5 separate regions of the Homo sapiens genome follow, and all the other regions are linked to region 1. Evidence: promoter capture Hi-C in 16 types of primary human blood cells and fetal thymus (Javierre and others, 2016). All regions are on one chromosome and are shown on one strand. Each heading gives the region's core, a stretch centred on a gene start or on the middle of the fragment in contact. The rest is flanking DNA. Distances are from core to core; before and after follow the strand shown.

Evidence for each region. Contacts are between HindIII fragments. The CHiCAGO score rates a contact against its expected background, and 5 or more counts as called.
Region 2: a contact is called between a fragment that was not itself captured here and the fragment with the promoter of ESPL1 in region 1, in 1 of 17 cell types (erythroblasts). The highest score is 6.3, in erythroblasts.
Region 3: a contact is called between a fragment that was not itself captured here and the fragment with the promoter of ESPL1 in region 1, in 2 of 17 cell types (naive B cells and erythroblasts). The highest score is 5.7, in naive B cells.
Region 4: a contact is called between a fragment that was not itself captured here and the fragment with the promoter of ESPL1 in region 1, in 1 of 17 cell types (erythroblasts). The highest score is 6.8, in erythroblasts.
Region 5: a fragment that was not itself captured here is called in contact with the fragment with the promoter of ESPL1 in region 1 in 2 of 17 cell types (total CD8 T cells and endothelial precursors); the score reaches 5.7 in total CD8 T cells.

Annotation. Positions count from the first base shown.
Region 1 is chr12:53,266,514-53,269,923 of GRCh38, forward strand. ESPL1 (extra spindle pole bodies like 1, separase) reads left to right here and starts at 1,786. Exons shown (of 31, transcript NM_012291.5): 1 at 1,786-1,864; 2 at 2,242-2,334; 3 at 2,511-3,410. The coding sequence starts at 2,254. RefSeq lists enhancers at 1,723-2,092, 2,153-2,232. The HindIII fragment of the contact is 5,649 bases long and covers 1-2,572 here.
Region 2 is chr12:53,018,262-53,021,671 of GRCh38, forward strand. EIF4B (eukaryotic translation initiation factor 4B) reads left to right here. Exons shown (of 15, transcript NM_001417.7): 3 at 537-745; 4 at 1,649-1,765. Among named protein-coding and RNA genes, the nearest start is that of EIF4B, 14 kb to the left of the region's middle. The HindIII fragment of the contact is 2,938 bases long and covers 373-3,310 here.
Region 3 is chr12:53,491,756-53,495,165 of GRCh38, forward strand. All of the region lies in intron 1 of MAP3K12 (mitogen-activated protein kinase kinase kinase 12), which reads right to left. Among named protein-coding and RNA genes, the nearest start is that of MAP3K12, 6.0 kb to the right of the region's middle. RefSeq lists a silencer at 1,123-1,372. The HindIII fragment of the contact is 2,695 bases long and covers 360-3,054 here.
Region 4 is chr12:53,468,888-53,472,297 of GRCh38, forward strand. It overlaps PCBP2 (poly(rC) binding protein 2), which reads left to right. Exons shown (of 15, transcript NM_031989.5): 14 at 2,751-2,920. Among named protein-coding and RNA genes, the nearest start is that of PCBP2-OT1, 6.1 kb to the left of the region's middle. The HindIII fragment of the contact is 4,794 bases long and covers 1-3,410 here.
Region 5 is chr12:53,072,535-53,075,944 of GRCh38, forward strand. SPRYD3 (SPRY domain containing 3) reads right to left here. Exons shown (of 11, transcript NM_032840.3): 3 at 3,202-3,277; 4 at 2,561-2,685; 5 at 2,115-2,250; 6 at 752-937. Among named protein-coding and RNA genes, the nearest start is that of SPRYD3, 5.2 kb to the right of the region's middle. RefSeq lists enhancers at 1-25, 1-349. The HindIII fragment of the contact is 2,730 bases long and covers 156-2,885 here.

The sequences.
Region 1 (3,410 bases), core at 536-3,035:
CCGGAGGATCACTTGAGCTCAGGAGTTCAAGACCAACCTGGGCATCATAGTGAGACCTCGTTTCTATCTTAAAAAAAGAAGAAAAAAGTAGGTATAATAAAATACGTTGGGAAAAAGTCCTAGAATGCTTGCTAAACAATAGGTAAATGAACACTGATAGCTAAGGTGTAAGCAAGAGGAATTGAGTACTGTGATGAATAATTTTCTTTTGGGTTTTTTTTGTTTGTTTGTTTGTTTTTTGGTTTTTTTTTTTTTGAGACAGAGTCGTCTCGCTCTGTAGCCCAGGCTGGAGTGCAGTGGCGCGATCTTGGCTCACTGCAAGCTCCGCTTCCCGGGTTCACGCCGTTCTCCTAGCGCAGCCTCCCGAGTAGCTGGGACTACAGGAGCCTGCAACCACGCCCGGCTAATTTTTTGTATTTTTAGTAGAGACGGGGTTTCACCATGTTGGCCAGGATTGTCTCGATCTCCTGACCTCGTGATCCGCCCGCCTCGGTCTCTCAAAGTGCTGGGATTACAGGCGTGAGCCACCGCGCCCGGCCTTTTTTTTGGTTTTCTTTTTTGAGACAGAGTCTTGCTCTGTCACCCAGACTGCAGTACAGTGGCGGGATCTCAGCTCACTGCAACCTCCGCTTCCCGGGTTCAAGCGATCCTCCCAAGTAGCTGGGACTACAGGCCCCCGATGCCACAGCAGCTAATTTTTGTATTTTTAGTAGAGATGGGGTTTCACCATGTTGGTCAGGCTGGTTCTCAAGTGATCCACCCACCTCGGCCTCCTAAAGTGCTGGGATTATAGGCGTGAGCCACCGCGCCCGGCCTTCTTTTCTTTCTTTTTACAAAAATAATCTTCCCTGCTAGATTCTCAACTCATAAAAGAGCTCTATGATGATGGAGAAGGATGAGTTATCCAGTAGAGTTCATCAGCGACAAGCTGATAACCACTTTTGAGCTGAATTCTTTGGTGGAGGAAGGAAAGAGACAGCTGAATCTGTGTTTGGGGAAGTGGTTAGTACTTAAAAACATAAGCCATTAAAGACTGTGAAATATCCCAGGGAATGAATTTCCATAGTTCTTCCTGCTACTCACAACTCCCACCCCACCCCACTACCCTCTCTCCCCCATCGAAGAGCACCAGATCTTGTCTTTCTCATACAACCAATAGAAGGAGTAAGGCTGGAAGGCAGAGAGAGAGCTGGAGGTCGCTACGGGTACTCATTGTAGTTCCCCTAGAAAACCATCTTTAAAATAATTTCGTAGGAAGTTGGGCGTGGCGGTGCACGCCCGTAGTCAGCACTTTGGGAGGCTGAGGTGGGAGGATCACTTAAGCCCGGGAGTTTGAAGCTGCAGTGAGCTGTGATCACGCCACTGCACTCCAGCCTGTGTGTCAGAGCAAGACCCTATCAAAAAAAAAATTCGTAGAAGTCTAAGCCCTTTTTTTCTAGTAACCCAAACCGCGTGAGTTCCTAAGTTCTTTTTGTTATTTCTCTTCTCTTGAAACTTAAACTCTTGCCTGAGCTCTGAAGATAAAGGAGGAAAAGGGGTGGCATTACCGATAGCGACTAAGCGACAGGTAGCTGAGAAACTGAGCTCTGACTGGAAAAAAGGGGGAAACCCGCACCCCCAAGAGGCCCTAACGCGCAGAGCAGCAAGACCCTCCGGGGCGCCGCGGGAGCGCGCAGCGCGGCGGGTAAACTACAACTCCCAGCGTGCCGCGCGCCCGGCGTTGCGCCGCGCCCGCTGATTGGCAGCCGCGGATATTTGAAAGGAGGGTCTGGCGCGGAAAACGAAGGTTACATTTTGGATCCTCGCGGAGTACTGGTCAGGCGGTTAAGTCCTGTACCTAGGAAAGAGGGCGAGCTCTGGGGCGGTAAGGCCGGAAGGGACTCGTGAGCGTGGGTACGTGCTGAAGTGAAGGGGATCCCCAGCGCTGACGCGAGGAGAGGCGTGGGTGGCTCCTGGAGGGAGTGTCGGGAGGCCTTGGGACTGCCCCGGGCCGCTGAAGGGCTGGGCCGAGGCCTCTGGGGTAGCGCGGCGAGTGGTGTGGTAGTGCGGTCGGGGATCTGCCCGGAGGAAGGAAGAGCGGAATCGTCCTTTTATAACGGGAGCACGGCGTCCTGGCGTGGGTTTTCTCCCCGATGAAATTTCTGATGTGATTCTTTGCCTCCTTCCACGACCTTCAGCCCTCTTCCCTTCCTCCAGTTAGCTTCATTAACAATCTTCTCTAATTGGTCTCCTTTTCCCTAGCTCTCCGGTGTCATGAGGAGCTTCAAAAGAGTCAACTTTGGGACTCTGCTAAGCAGCCAGAAGGAGGCTGAAGAGTTGCTGCCCGCCTTGAAGGTGGGGGTGCTGCCTGGCTCGGGATACACCTGGCTTTCCAAACTGAGCTGTTTTGTGTTTGCCTTTTGAAGAGATGGATAAGTAGGCGACCCTCTCTGAGTAACCCTATTTCTAGTTACTTTCTCTACCTCTTTCCTGCCTTTGCTAGCCCCATTCATATCTTTCTCTACTCCTAGGAGTTCCTGTCCAACCCTCCAGCTGGTTTTCCCAGCAGCCGATCTGATGCTGAGAGGAGACAAGCTTGTGATGCCATCCTGAGGGCTTGCAACCAGCAGCTGACTGCTAAGCTAGCTTGCCCTAGGCATCTGGGGAGCCTGCTGGAGCTGGCAGAGCTGGCCTGTGATGGCTACTTAGTGTCTACCCCACAGCGTCCTCCCCTCTACCTGGAACGAATTCTCTTTGTCTTACTGCGGAATGCTGCTGCACAAGGAAGCCCAGAGGCCACACTCCGCCTTGCTCAGCCCCTCCATGCCTGCTTGGTGCAGTGCTCTCGCGAGGCTGCTCCCCAGGACTATGAGGCCGTGGCTCGGGGCAGCTTTTCTCTGCTTTGGAAGGGGGCAGAAGCCCTGTTGGAACGGCGAGCTGCATTTGCAGCTCGGCTGAAGGCCTTGAGCTTCCTAGTACTCTTGGAGGATGAAAGTACCCCTTGTGAGGTTCCTCACTTTGCTTCTCCAACAGCCTGTCGAGCGGTAGCTGCCCATCAGCTATTTGATGCCAGTGGCCATGGTCTAAATGAAGCAGATGCTGATTTCCTAGATGACCTGCTCTCCAGGCACGTGATCAGAGCCTTGGTGGGTGAGAGAGGGAGCTCTTCTGGGCTTCTTTCTCCCCAGAGGGCCCTCTGCCTCTTGGAGCTCACCTTGGAACACTGCCGTCGCTTTTGCTGGAGCCGCCACCATGACAAAGCCATCAGCGCAGTGGAGAAGGCTCACAGTTACCTAAGGAACACCAATCTAGCCCCTAGCCTTCAGCTATGTCAGCTGGGGGTTAAGCTGCTGCAGGTTGGGGAGGAAGGACCTCAGGCAGTGGCCAAGCTTCTGATCAAGGCATCAGCTGTCCTGAGCAAGAGTATGGAG
Region 2 (3,410 bases), core at 592-3,091, 250 kb before region 1:
ATAGGTGTGAGCCACCGAGCCAGGCCTGTTGTTGTTTTTAAGGGAGGATAGACCATGCAGAAAAATACTCAACTTCAAACTCACCACTAGGAATACAAGAGTTGTCAGTAGTGGTTAAATATACCTGGAGTAAGAGGGACCCAGGTTTGAATCCTAGCTTTACCGTCTGTGACCTTGGGCAAATTACTGTCTGAAATCTGAGTTTGCTTTTCTGTAGAATGGGGGACAACCTCACAGGACTGTTAAAAAGATAAGATGGGATATAATGAATATAAAGTAGCTGGCACACAGTAATATTCCATAAAGAGTTGTATTTATGGAATAATATTTCTTTGCTTACATAAAGATTAAGGTGTCATAATTAATCTCAGAAGCTTCTCTTCGTAAAGTGCCCTTATTACTGAACCCCCACTTTTTTTGGTCTGGTTTTCTTGTATAGCATGTTTAATATTTGGCAATTAACATGGGTCCTCTTGTTCTATGACAGTAGTGAGAGAAGTTTCTTCTAATTTCTTACATTCATTCCTCTATCCTAGTTTCGACCACTTGGCACAGTAACGATGACGATGTGTATAGGGCGCCTCCAATTGACCGTTCCATCCTTCCCACTGCTCCACGGGCTGCTCGGGAACCCAATATCGACCGGAGCCGTCTTCCCAAATCGCCACCCTACACTGCTTTTCTAGGAAACCTACCCTATGATGTTACAGAAGAGTCAATTAAGGAATTCTTTCGAGGATTAAATGTAAGTGTAAAAGTTGTAATAATTAACTAGATATTGAGGATAATGTCTAAAAAAGACTAATTGTGGAATGGGCAGTTGCTGTTGAAAAAACAACTAGAAATATAATTTAAGGCCGGGAATGGTGGCTCACGCCTGTAATCCCAGCACTCTGGGAGTCTGAGGCGGGTGGATCATTTGAGGTCAGGAATTCGAGTCCAGCCTGGCTAACGTGGTGAGACCCTGTCTCTACTAAGAATACAAAAATTAGCTGGGCGTGGTGGTACACGTCTGTAATCCCAGCTACTTGGGAGGCTGAGGTAGGAGAATTGCTTGAACCTGGAAGACGGAGGTTGTGGTGAGCCGAGATTGCGCCATTGCACTCCAGCCTGGGCAACAAGAGTGAAACACCATCTCAAAGAAAAAAAATAAAATCAAAATTATATATATATATATTTTTTTTTTTTCTTTTTTTTTTTTTTTTTTTTTTTTGAGACAGAGTCTCATTCTGTCATCCAGGCTGGAGTACAGTGGATTACATGCCCAGCTAATTTTTTGTATTTAGTAGAGATAGGGTTGCACTATGTTGGTCAGGCTGGTCTTGAACTCCTGACCTCAGAGGATCCACCTGCTTCGGCCTCCCAAAGTGCTGGGACTACAGGCATGAGCCACTGCACCTGGCCTGAATTAATCTTTTTTTTTTTTTTTTTAGAGTTAAATTCATACAGTTCAAAATTCAGAAGGTATAATAGGGCATTTAGTAAAGTTTCTACTATCCCTCTGCATCAGTTTTCCTCCTGAGACAACCATGTTCTTGTGTATTCAGAAAAATTCATGCACATACAGTAATGCTTTTGTAGTCCTCTCAAAAAATGACAAATGAAGAAGAATGCTGGGAAACTTTGTTGTTGATTCTTATTCCTTCAGATCAGTGCAGTGCGTTTACCACGTGAACCCAGCAATCCAGAGAGGTTGAAAGGTTTTGGTTATGCTGAATTTGAGGACCTGGATTCCCTGCTCAGTGCCCTGAGTCTCAATGAAGAGGTAAAGAAAATAAGAGTGGGGATATGAGGGGTGTAAGTTCACAAATCTCATGTTTATTGATCAAACTGGTATTTTTTAGGTTGAGAGGCTCACTTCAAAGATTCCCATATCTACAAATAAAGGCCTGCATTATTTAACAGTGTATCACTTAACATCGAACATCTAGCAAGTCACACTTCAGCAAATTCAGTAGGCCCCAATAATTTAGATAGGTACTTAGGTGGAAAGTTGTGGAAGAAACCCACCACACACCAGGTCTCTAATTAAGTCTTACACTGATTTACCCACAGTGTTGCCTCAACTCTTATGGCATTGCTTTTTCAAAGTAATCTGGCCTGATAAAGGCAAATAGAAAAATCAAGTTTGTTTAGTATTAAAGGCATATCTCATTTTCAGGGAAGTGTTGTAATGGTATATTTGTTCATTTAAGAGGATTTGGAAACATTTCCTACAAAGGAATATTTTACAGGAGAGTGACAATAAATATCTAGTCCTTCTGCTTGTCAACACTGCCCACAAAGGTTTTCCTGTCCCAGGACTTGAGGGGCTTATATCTCAGAAGAAAAAAGACTTTTTTCCTCCTTTAACTCCAAAAACACCTTATTGTTTATTGATAAGGCAATTTCTAGTGCCATTTGTGCCATATTTCTGTAGTCCTATTTTGCCATATGACATGATTGAAATCAACACCTCTTAGAAATAGTTTTGCTGCCTCATAATTGATTACCATCATGATAACCTGTAGTCAGTGTGAAATAGAGATAAAAATTAATGTACTTAGTTAAATGCATATGAAGGTCTAATCTTGTTCCAGAGTTACTCTTACTGGATTATTTTTAGATTTTTATTAACATTACTGGTCTCTAACTTTACTCAGTCTGGATAAGAAAAAGAATACCATGCAATTGTTAACTATTTGATGTTTACTAGATTAACTATTAATATATTGTTGTGGTCCATAGTTAAGAGTTACTTTGTTACTAGAGATTTCATTATAGTGGTGTTTAATATAGTTTTGGGTATTTTTAACTAAAAATCATTGTTATCCTTCAACTGTAGATTCTACTATGAAATGAGGAAAAATCAGCAATAGAATTAATTGGGTTCAAAGTATATAAATAATGATGTGGGAAAGGGAAGTCAGAGGGTATCTCTGGAAGAACTGATTTATCTGAAGGTAATACTGAGTGAAAGAACCTAAGATTGTAGACAAAGCATGCTTTATGCAATTTTGCTGGTACATAGTAGTAGTAGAGGCTCTATAAATGTGTTGGGTGTTTTTGTTTTTAAGAGACAGTGTCTCGCTATATTGCCCAGGCTGGATTTGAACTCCTGGGCTTAAGTGATCCTCCAGCCTCAGCCTCCCAAATAGCTGAGACTGTAGGTACATGCCACTGCACCTGGCTTCTATAAATTTTGATAAATAATTGTTGTGGCACCAAATATGCCTTTTATTCAGCTAGTTATGTGAGAATTATTTTTAATTTACTACACTTGACAAATTACCTTGGATAGTTAAAAAGTTAATTCTATTCTGTGAAATTAAGCTTTGTAAAAATAGTATAATTGACCTAATATTCAAGGCCAGCTTAAATTTGTTTAACTTTTAAGTCTTTTAAAGGACTCTTTAGCCCACAAATTGGAG
Region 3 (3,410 bases), core at 457-2,956, 230 kb after region 1:
GCCCACAGGGCCATAGCTATTAAGAAGCTCAAGCTCTGCTGGGCGCAGTGGCTCACGCCTGTAATCCCAGCACTCTGGGAAGCCGAGGTGGGCGGATCGCTTGAGCTCGGGAGTTTGAGACCAGCCTGGGGAACATGGGGAGAGCCTGTCTCTGCTACAAATACAAAAAATTAGCTGGGCGTGGTGGCGCATGCCTGTGGTCCCAGCTACTTGAGAGGCTAAGGTGGGAGAATCGCTTGAGCCCAGGAGGTGGAGGTTGCAGTGAGCCGAGATTGTGCCACTGCACTCTAGCCTGGGTGACAGAGCAAGACTCTGTTTCAAAAAAAAAAAAAAAAAGAAGAAGAAGAAAAAGAAGCTCAAGCTTCACCCCCAGCCTGGAAGGCGCTTCTCATCTCTATCCAGGTGTCACTTTATCCTGGACGTCCTTCTTTCCTGATCCGCTCTAGGTTAATGCGCCTTCTGGGCTGACACAGCCCCACTATGCGTCCTCTATCATGGTTCCCATTATACTGGACGGACAATGTAGTCGGGCGTCTGGCTCCTTTGAGAGCCTGGACAGCCTTTAGAGAGATGACTTCGCATCACAAGGGAACCATGGCTTGCAACAGCACCTGGCACGCAGAAGGTGCTCGGTAAGGTGGAACCACTGCTCTACTCACCCCGGAGGATCGCCTTAAGCCCCGCACACTCTCTCTGCGCGCGCGCGCGCGCGCAAACACACACACAAAACTAGCTCCCTGAATCCTCAGAAGAGCCAGGTGAAGGAGGTACTACTGGTCCCATTATATTCTTGAGAGAACTGAGGCCCAGAAAGCACAAATCACACTAAAGTTCAGCTTCCAAATCCCCAACATATCCCACGCGTTATTTGTGGCTTCAAGAGGTAAGGTGTAGGTTGCAATGCAAATTACAGACAAACACAGACCAAGCAAAGTGCCAACATATGGGAGAATTTCGTCTGGAGGACCCAAGGGATTTTGCCTGCCCCCCAACCTCCCTCCCCGCCCCCACCACCTCCCACTCCGCCGCAACCCCGGGCTTCGCTTCTGGACCACCCAGAAACAAGGCCCAAGACTCTGGGACGCTCTCGCCTGGCAGGCCAGGAGGGAGGGATGGCGGGATTGGAGCCCTCGGGGAGGAGCCGGGGCCGTGCCCTGGACAGCTTGGTCACCAGCAATGGAAGGACGAAGCCCAAGTCAGGACCGCTGAAAGTGGGGAGGAAGGGGTTACGGCCACAGCGCCCCCTCCCCCTTCCCGACCTCCTTCCCGGCCGTCACGTGGCGCGTGGCTGGGGCGGGGGCCGCGGCGGCGGAAGGGGGTGGTCCGGGTGGGGAAAGGGAAGGGACACGGCCGGCTGGGGGAAGCGCTGGGCGCTGCGGCGTAACCATGACGACTGGGCCTGAGGCGGCGCGTGAAGTCACCAGGACAAGATTAGCCCCGGATCACGTGAGCGCGACGTGGGGGCGGGGCTGTGCCTGGGCCCCGCCCCTGACCTGGGCCGGCCCAGGTGGCTGGTTGCCGGGATGGCTGCGAGGATCTTAGGTGCGGACCCCCACCCAGCGGTCTGCCCCATCTGTGTTCCCTTCCTTCCCCTGCCCCCGCATGCAGAGAGATCTTCGGCTGAGGCGTCTGGTGTTGGCAGGAGGGGACTTGTGGGGTTGGCATTGGGGGTGCAGTACCACAGGGAAGGAAAGCAGGAAATGAGAGAAAGGGAGACAGGGCACAGAAAAGGCGAAAGGTACAGCTAGGAAGGAGGAAGGAGCTGAGACATATACAGACACCGGAGCAGCGTCAAGCGGAGTCAACCCCGAGAAGGATGGCTTGAAAAGCTGTTTGGAAAAGCAGAGGACCCTGAGAAAATGGAGATGAAAGGGGAGTGAGAAACACGGAGAACACCCATCTCCTTTTCTGTCTAGAAGCCGAGCTTTGAGTAGGCACAGCACCTGGCTTTTTAAAGGAATTTTTCAGCCGTCATCTGGTTGTTTGACGACTAGGTGGTTTAGGCATAGAAAGGGTGACATGCTCAGAGACACTTGCAGCCAGCCGAGCCTCCCTCCAGTTCACCAGGCTTCCCCAGAGGCCCTTCTGGTATCCAGGGCCAGCAGCTGGGGAGAGAAGGAGAGAAGCCATTTCACCTGTTTGTCTTTTACGGTAGTGGGGATAGCTGAAGAAGTAGGAGATGGGACCAAGGGAAAGATCTCAGGCTAGTTGACGGCTCTTCCACATTGACCTGGAGTGAGGGAAAGCTGCTGCCCCTGGGAGCTATAGTAAAGTGGAGATTCCTCTCTCCCAACACACACACACATACCCCTTTTTGTTTCCTTTATTTCTGACCTGCCAGCTGTGTCCCACTGCCCCCTGGCTGGGCCTTGGCGCCAGAGCTTTGGAGGGGCGTCTAGGATGGCTAGGAGCCCCTGGCCCAGACGTTCAGTCACCCTGGGGGAGGGTAGCTGTCTCTCCGTTATCAATTATGCAGAGCATGGGGGAAGGGCAGCAATGTGACAGGAGGGTGGGTCTCTCTGTCACTCACTGTCAACCATATCTACCAAGTGTTGATGGTGCTTCTGCCTCACATTGGGTGAGGGGACAGAATGATCTCTAAGCCATACATGTGCCAGGGGAGGAGGCTCTTTGGACACCCAACAGGCCCTAATTCAGTGCTTTGCTGGTGGCCCCAAAGTGACTCCATAAGGAGGCTACAGGGTAGAGTGGGGTAGGAAGTCACCCCCCATCTATCCCACCTTCTAGGTTCTCTGGCCTGAGATTTTGGAAGCCTGTGGCAGGTAAACTCTCTGAATTCTCTCTAGCTCCTTCTTGTATAACAGCAGAATGTCAATGCTAAGCTGTTTGGTGGTCTTAGGGGCTCAGTTCAGAGGCCAGGTCATCTGCCTAAATCTTGGGCTCTCACACTGAGTGCTCTCCACTGTCTGAGACCTCATTTTTTTACTCAGGAAAAGGAGAATGATTCCCTTTCTCTCGTGAGTGGGGGTAGGAAGGGGAGTCTTCAAAGGGAAAGGAGACCCAAGACTTTGGAGTCCTAATTCCACCTCTGCAAGCTTTGAAACCCTGAGAGGATAAAGGTCTCTGATCAATCGTGGCCATGCCTCCTGTCCCCTTGGCTGCAGCTCGTATTGTTTTTGAAACAGGGTCTCGCTTTGTTGCCCAGGCTGGAGTGCAGTGGGATGATCACGGCTCACTGCCTGCAGCCTCAACCTCCTGGGCTCAAGTGATCCTCCCCCTTCAGCCTCCTGAGTAGCTGGGACTACAGGCACTCACCACCACACCAGACTAAATTAAAAAAAGGCCGAGCACAGTGGCTCACGTCTGTAGTCCCAGCACTTTGGGAGGCCCAGGCGGGCGGATCATGAGGTCAGGAGATGGAGACCATCCTGGCTACCATGGGGAAACCC
Region 4 (3,410 bases), core at 328-2,827, 200 kb after region 1:
AGATGTCGTTTCAGCAGTGTCCTGCTACCCTTTTTTTTTTTTTTTTTTTAAACAGCCCAGGCTGTAGTGCAGTGGTGCGATCTTGGCTCACCGCAGCCTCCGCCTCCCGGGTTCAACCAATTCTCCTGCCTCAACCTCCTGAGTAGCTGGGATTACAGGCATGTGCCACCATGCCTGGCTAATTTTGTATTTTTAGTAGAGATGGAGTTTCTCCATGTTGGTCAGGCTGGTCTCAAACTCCCGAGCTCAGGTGATCCACTCACCTTGGCCTCCCAAAGTGCTGGGATTACAGGTCTGAGTCACCGCACTTGGCCTACATGTCCTGCTACTTTTAAGCCCTAGGGAAAGAAACTGGGAATTTTATTATTTTATCTTTATTTTTGTTTTTGTTTTTCATACCCCAGGAATGGAAAATGGGAATTTTTAGACACAAAAATAAGTTGATTATAATATACAGAATTGTGATGACAAATATGATAAGAGAAAATAGACTATTATTGTGTGAGGTATGACGAGACAGCAGTAACTTTTTGCTGAAAATAGAAATTCCTGGCTGGGCACGGTGGCTCACTCCTGTAATCCCAGCACTTTGGGAGGCCGAGGCGGGTGGATCACCTGAGCTTGGAAGTTCGAGACCAGCCTGACTACCATGGAGGAACCCATCTCTACTAAAAATACAAAAAAAGCAAAAAGCCTGGCATGGTGTTGCATCTCTGTAATCCCAGCTATTTGGGAGGCTAAGGTAGGAGAATTGCTTGAAACCCGGGAGGCGGAGGTTGTGGTGAGCCGAGATCGCGCCATCGCACTCCAGCCTGGGCAACAAGAGCGAAACTCCATTTCAAAAAAGGAAAGAAATTCCTGTACATTTGCTGCTTTTTTTTTTTTTTTTTTTGAGACGGCATCTTGCTCTGTTTCCCAGGCTTGGCTCACTGTGACCTCCGTCTCCTGGGTTCAAGCAATTTTCCTGCCCCAGCCTCCCGAGTAGATGGGACTACAGGCATGTGCCACCATGTCCGGCTGATTTTTGTATTTTTTTTAATTAGAGATGGGGTTTCTCCATGTTGGTCAGGCTGGTCTTGAACTCCTGACCTTACGTGATCCCCCCCCTTCAGCCTCCCAAAGCGTTGGGATTACAGGTGTGAGCCACTGCGTCCAGCCTGCTTTTGTTTTTTTGTAGAAGCTAAAGCCTTATCTTTAGAAGATGTTGTGGTTTTCAGCCAGGTGCAGTGGCTCATGCATATAATCCCAGCACTTGTGGGAGGCTGAGGCAAGTGGGTCACGAGGTCAGGAGACCAGCCTGACCATAGTGGTGAAACCCTGTCTCTACTAAAAATACAAAAATTAGCCAGGTGTGCTGGCCCGCACCTGTAATCCCATTACTCAGAAGGCTGAGGCAGGAGAATCCCCTGAACCTGGGAGGCGGAGGTTGCAGTGAGCCAAGATCGTGCCACTGCACTCCAGCCTGGGCAACAGACCAAGACTCCGTCTCTCAAAAAAAAAAAAAAAAAAAAAAAAGTGTAGTGGCTTTTTTTTTTGACAAAGGGTCTCCCTCTGTTGCCCAGGCTGGAGCAGAGAGGCATGATCGTGGCTCACTGCAGCCTTGAACTTCCAGGCTTAAGAGATCCTCCCATCTCAGCCTCCTGAGTAGCTGGGACCACAGGTGCATGCCACTATCCCTGGCTAACTTTTTTTGTATTTTTTTTGTAAAGACAAGAGTTTCGCCATGAAACTCCTGAACGCAAGTGATTGGCCTGCCTCAGCCTACAGGCATGAGCCACGGTCCCCCACCATAGTGTAGTGGTTCATGAACATCAGATCTGTGCTGTCCAGGGTCATATTTTTTACAGTATTAGTGCAAATGTTAACCAGTTTTTTTTTTTTTTTTTCCACCTTTTCCCAAGGCAAAAACACCTTAGGAATTGGCCAGAATTCTTGTCGGTATAGGAGGGTGGTAATCATGGCAGGATGACTTTAAGCATATTTGCTGCCAGAAACAGAATGTATTTCTACCTTTATCTATTTCTAGCTGTCTAAATTTATTTTTGTTTTGGCTCTGCTTTGTCTTTGGAAGTAATATTCTGAGGACAGAAATAATGAAGAGCTAATACTTGGACCTAAGAGTATTATGTCTCTTGGACCTAAAAGACAGTTCTGAGTTGGCTCAGAACTGGCTGTCACTCACCATGGGTGGTCAGACTGAAAAATGGGTCAAGAGTTGAGTTTTTTGATCAAAAGTGTATGAGTAAAGGGTGTAGGATGAAATTGGGCATGGCGGTATACACCTGTAATCCCAGGTTACAGGGAGCACAGAGATACAGAGGCTGAGATTCGAAAATGGCTTAAACCAAGGAGTTTGAGACTAGCCTGAGCAACATAGCGAGACCCTCGGTTTTTTTTTTTTTTTTTAAAGGGCCAGGTTCGGTGGCTTATACCTGTAATCCCAGCACTTTGGGAGGCCAAGGTGGGTGGATCACAAGGTCAAGAGATTGAGACCATCCTGGCCAACATGGTGAAACCCCGTCTCTACTAAAAATACAAAAATTGGCTGGGCATGGTGGCATGCGCCTGTAGTCCTGCTGAGGCAGGTGAATTGCTCAAATCCAGGAGGCTGAGGTTGCACAGTGAGCCAAGATCAGGCCACTGCACTCCAGCCTGGCCACAGTCGTAGGATTTGGGGTGGGGGGGTGGGATTCTTAGACCTAGCCATGCAACTCTAATTCGGTGTGCCTTGTTTTTCTTTCTCCCTTAAGTTGATTGGCTGCATAATCGGGCGTCAAGGCGCCAAAATCAATGAGATCCGTCAGATGTCTGGGGCGCAGATCAAAATTGCGAACCCAGTGGAAGGATCTACTGATAGGCAGGTTACCATCACTGGATCTGCTGCCAGCATTAGCCTGGCTCAATATCTAATCAATGTCAGGTAAGATTGCTCTACCTTTTGTCTTATTTATGCCAACACAGTAATGTGTGTGTTGGGGAGAGCTGCAGTGTATTAAATATGGGATTACATGGGCGATGGGTAAAGATGGCCAAAAGGTTTTTTTTTTTTTTTGCTAGCTCTACTTTCTTAGAGTGTAGCAGAAAAAGTAAACTGCAGTAAGTTTTCAAGGGGTTGGTGGGGGGGGGAGCACAGATTGCCCGCATTTAACTTGATGGTTTGGTAAGAGGGAAGAGTGGTCCTTGTCTTCAGTAAGAGTCCTCTGGCTAGAGCACTCACAAAATCAAATGTGGGTCTCTCTTGTTCTACATAGCATATAGACTACTATTTCTTTCACTGATTTGATTTGGAGTCCAAAGCACCCTTAATTGTAATAAGGACATTGGAGTAATAGGACAGCAAGGCAGTTTCTGGGAGGCAGCAATTACCATTTATTCTGGAAACACCCATTTTTCTCACACTGCATGTGTGT
Region 5 (3,410 bases), core at 271-2,770, 190 kb before region 1:
CCCGGACTTGGCGTCCATTCACTCCCAATGCAGCACAGTGTATTGAGGCAGACAGGAAGAATTTTCCTTTCTCAAGGTTCATGAATTTTCCAACAAAACTTAAAATCCGGGGAGGAAGAATTCCCCTTTCTCAAGCTCCACACGCTTCCCAACGAAGCTTAAAATCCATACTAAAGCAGGTATGAGGAAAAGATAAATGAAGCAAGTTTGGAGGTGTAAGGATGCTCACTGAATCTTTATCTGCCTCCATTCTAATCCTCTATCAAATGCAGGGATAAGACAATAGAAACTGACATTGACACTTCCTCAAAAAAGATGGCTAAGAACCTTCCACCACATGTGTGGACTTCTGACCACACCTGCCCCACAACACTTTGAATGAAAAGCCTGGGCCAGGCATTTTGCCTCCAGATCAACCCCCAGCCCCTCAAAGGCAGTTGTGCAGGGCTGTAGAAGACACCAGAAGCTGAAGGAACCAAAAAAGGCAAAGCAGAACTACTTGTTCCCAGGGTCAAACTGCGAACCTGAGTTCCCTGAAGAGGAGGAAGTGAAGAAAAGAGAACATGTGCTAAAGAAAACACAGATCTGGACTCAAGGACTCATGTCAAGAGCCTAGGCTATCTTGCCAAACCCCACACGGACACTGTCCCGACTCCCCATTCCCAGCAATTCAGACATGACCATGTGCCCACAGGTGTTCTGCCCAGCCTCCTCCGACCCAGCCCCTCCCACCCTCCCACCCGCTACTTACAGTCCCACAGACTCTGACATCATGTAGCCGGCCCCATTCATCCTCGTAACTGTCCACCATCATGACGCTGTCGTCCTCACGGCCCAGCTCAGCGTTGAGGTGCAGCCGCACCTCCTCACCCAGGGAGTGCATGCCCACTGCTGGGAACAGTCCATCTGGGGACATGGGCATGATGGTAGAGCCCACCTGCAGTGGGGGGAAAGACGGAGCTGCCACCCGGCCTGCTTTTCCATAGCTCACCTAATTCTCACAAGGGTACTTTTAAGATGATGCAACCAGCCGGGCGTGGTGGCTCACGCCTGTAATCCCAGCACTTTGGGAGGCCGAGGTGGGCGGATCACAAGGTCAGGAGATTGAAACCATCCTGGCTAACACGGTGAAACCCCGTCTCTACTAAAAATACAAAAAATTAGCCGGGCGTGGTGGCGGGCGCCTGTAGTCCCAGCTACTCGGGAGGCTGAGGCAGGAGAATGGCGTGAACCCGGGAGGCGGAGCTTGCAGTGAGCCGAGATGGTGCCACTGCACTCCAGCCTGGGGGACAGAGCGAGACTCCATTTCAAAAAAAAAAAAAAAAAGATGATGCAACCAATAATTATCACACACACTGACAGATTAAAAAAAAAAAAGCAACCCAGAGGTGCAGAAAAGTTTCCAAATGTGCTAAGTACTCCTGGCTAAGCAAGGTATGTACAGAGCTAGAAGACAAACACAAGTCTCCTGACTTGCTGCCAAATACTTTCAGTACGTGTGCTGGACAGGAGAGTGCCGAGGCGCAGATGCTAAGGCAGCAGGACCCCTTGGCCAAGGCCTGAGAAACCAATTTCCCAATGTGGGAGATGGAGTTGGAGAGAAGGGAGAGAGCTGTGTGTCTCTCTCTACTATTGGCTCCTGTCCCATCTCCTCACCACGCCTAGTCTCTCTACGAACAGGATAGTGAAAGAGACGTGAAACAAGGAAAACAGGACACAGAAAGGACATATCCCCAAAAGTGCTCAAGTCAAAACCCAAAGAGGACCTCCAGCTTACATGGCCAGGCCATAATCTTCCCCTCTCTTTTATCTGCTCAAAACCTTCCCCCAAATCACCCAATTCTGTTCCCCACAATTCCTGCTCATCCTCTGCTCCACTAACTTGCCTCTCTCTGCCTGTCATCTGGGCAATGTCCCAGCTTCCTCTGGCCATGGGAAGTATCTTCTCCTACACGCAAGAGACTTCAGGAGAATCTGAGGCTGGACTGGAGGAGATGGGAACTCAGTGCAAGGGTCCCTGGGCAAGCCCCAGCCAGCAGACTCTTCCTAATCACTCCCCACAAATCCTTGGGCAGATTTCAGCCACGTAAATCCCACCACTATTTCCCACTCACCCGCTTCCCATTTTTGGTGAAGAAGATCTGGGCGGTCTGCACATCAAAGGACACAGGCTCAATGCCACAGCCAATCCGGTCCCCGGAGTTGCACTTTGACCCAAACTGGCGGCCCTTGGCTCGGCCATTGTACAGCCTACAGACAGAGTAGTACAGACACAGGACCCGAGCCTGGCCTCCCAACTTCTCCCCAGCACTGACAGCAGAGGCCTCATCCTCATCTTGCTGCTCCTGGTCATTCTGTGATGGTACCCACTTACGTCCTGGCGTGAGCATCACCCTCCTCTAGTCTGTAAGCCTTCAAGGGTGCTGCCAGGCCACTTCCCTGTCCTGACCAGAAAAGTCTATGAAACACCCAATGGGAAAAGCCAGCCCAAGGTAGTTCTTCAGATCTAAGATTCCCAAATTCATAGGAAAAGGGCCGGGTTGCACAGGAGCCAACTCACTTGCCATCATCAGCATGGTAGGCTACAGAGTCAGGCAACCAGCCAGGCTGGTGATCCAAGCTGTAGTACTGAGGGACCAGCCCCACAGCAATGGTGCCCCGGACTCCACTGTCCACAATAGACACCTGGAGAGAAGAAAGCAGGGCACAGTCAGCAGGGCTGGGAAATGGGATGAATTGCTGGGGGTGGGGGAAGGGGACTTAGAGATTAAAGGGCGCTGAGGCTCAAAAAGAAAAAGGACATGGGAATCAGGAAAAAAGATAAGATACTCAGAGGGGGCAATTGGTGAGAGTGGGTGCCTATTTCACTTAGAAAATTACTCCAAAGCTTTGGAGAAAGATAGGACTCACGTCCCTATATGGTGGGTTTGGGTTAGGGGACATGAGTCAAGTCTGGGATATGGGTCAAAGTCTACCTAGCTAAGGGGTAGGAGAGCAGAAGGGACAGGGTGACAGGTTTCCAGGGCACCTATCTCTCAGATGAGGGGCCATGCTATCCTGCACCTATTTCCCAGCCAACAGGACAGCCCTGATGGAAAATTAAAAGGCCCAGGTCATACATCTAGTAAAGGAGCTTCTTGGGGCTTAATGATCTCACCCCCAAGCTCACCCCCTGCTCTGCCCACCCACTGCCTTGATCACCTCAAAATAATTGCTGTCCTTGGTCAGGGGTCGAGAAGCCACGTAGCAGCCAACTTCACCAGAGTTTCCATGATAACTGAAGGAGGAATGAGGGGGGAATTCCATTAGCAGCCTAGCCCAAGAGTAGGGGGAGGGCCTCAGCTTCTCCCACCCTTACCCTGCAAGGGCCAGCACACAGGAGAATCCATCAGGCTGCACTTCAGTACATC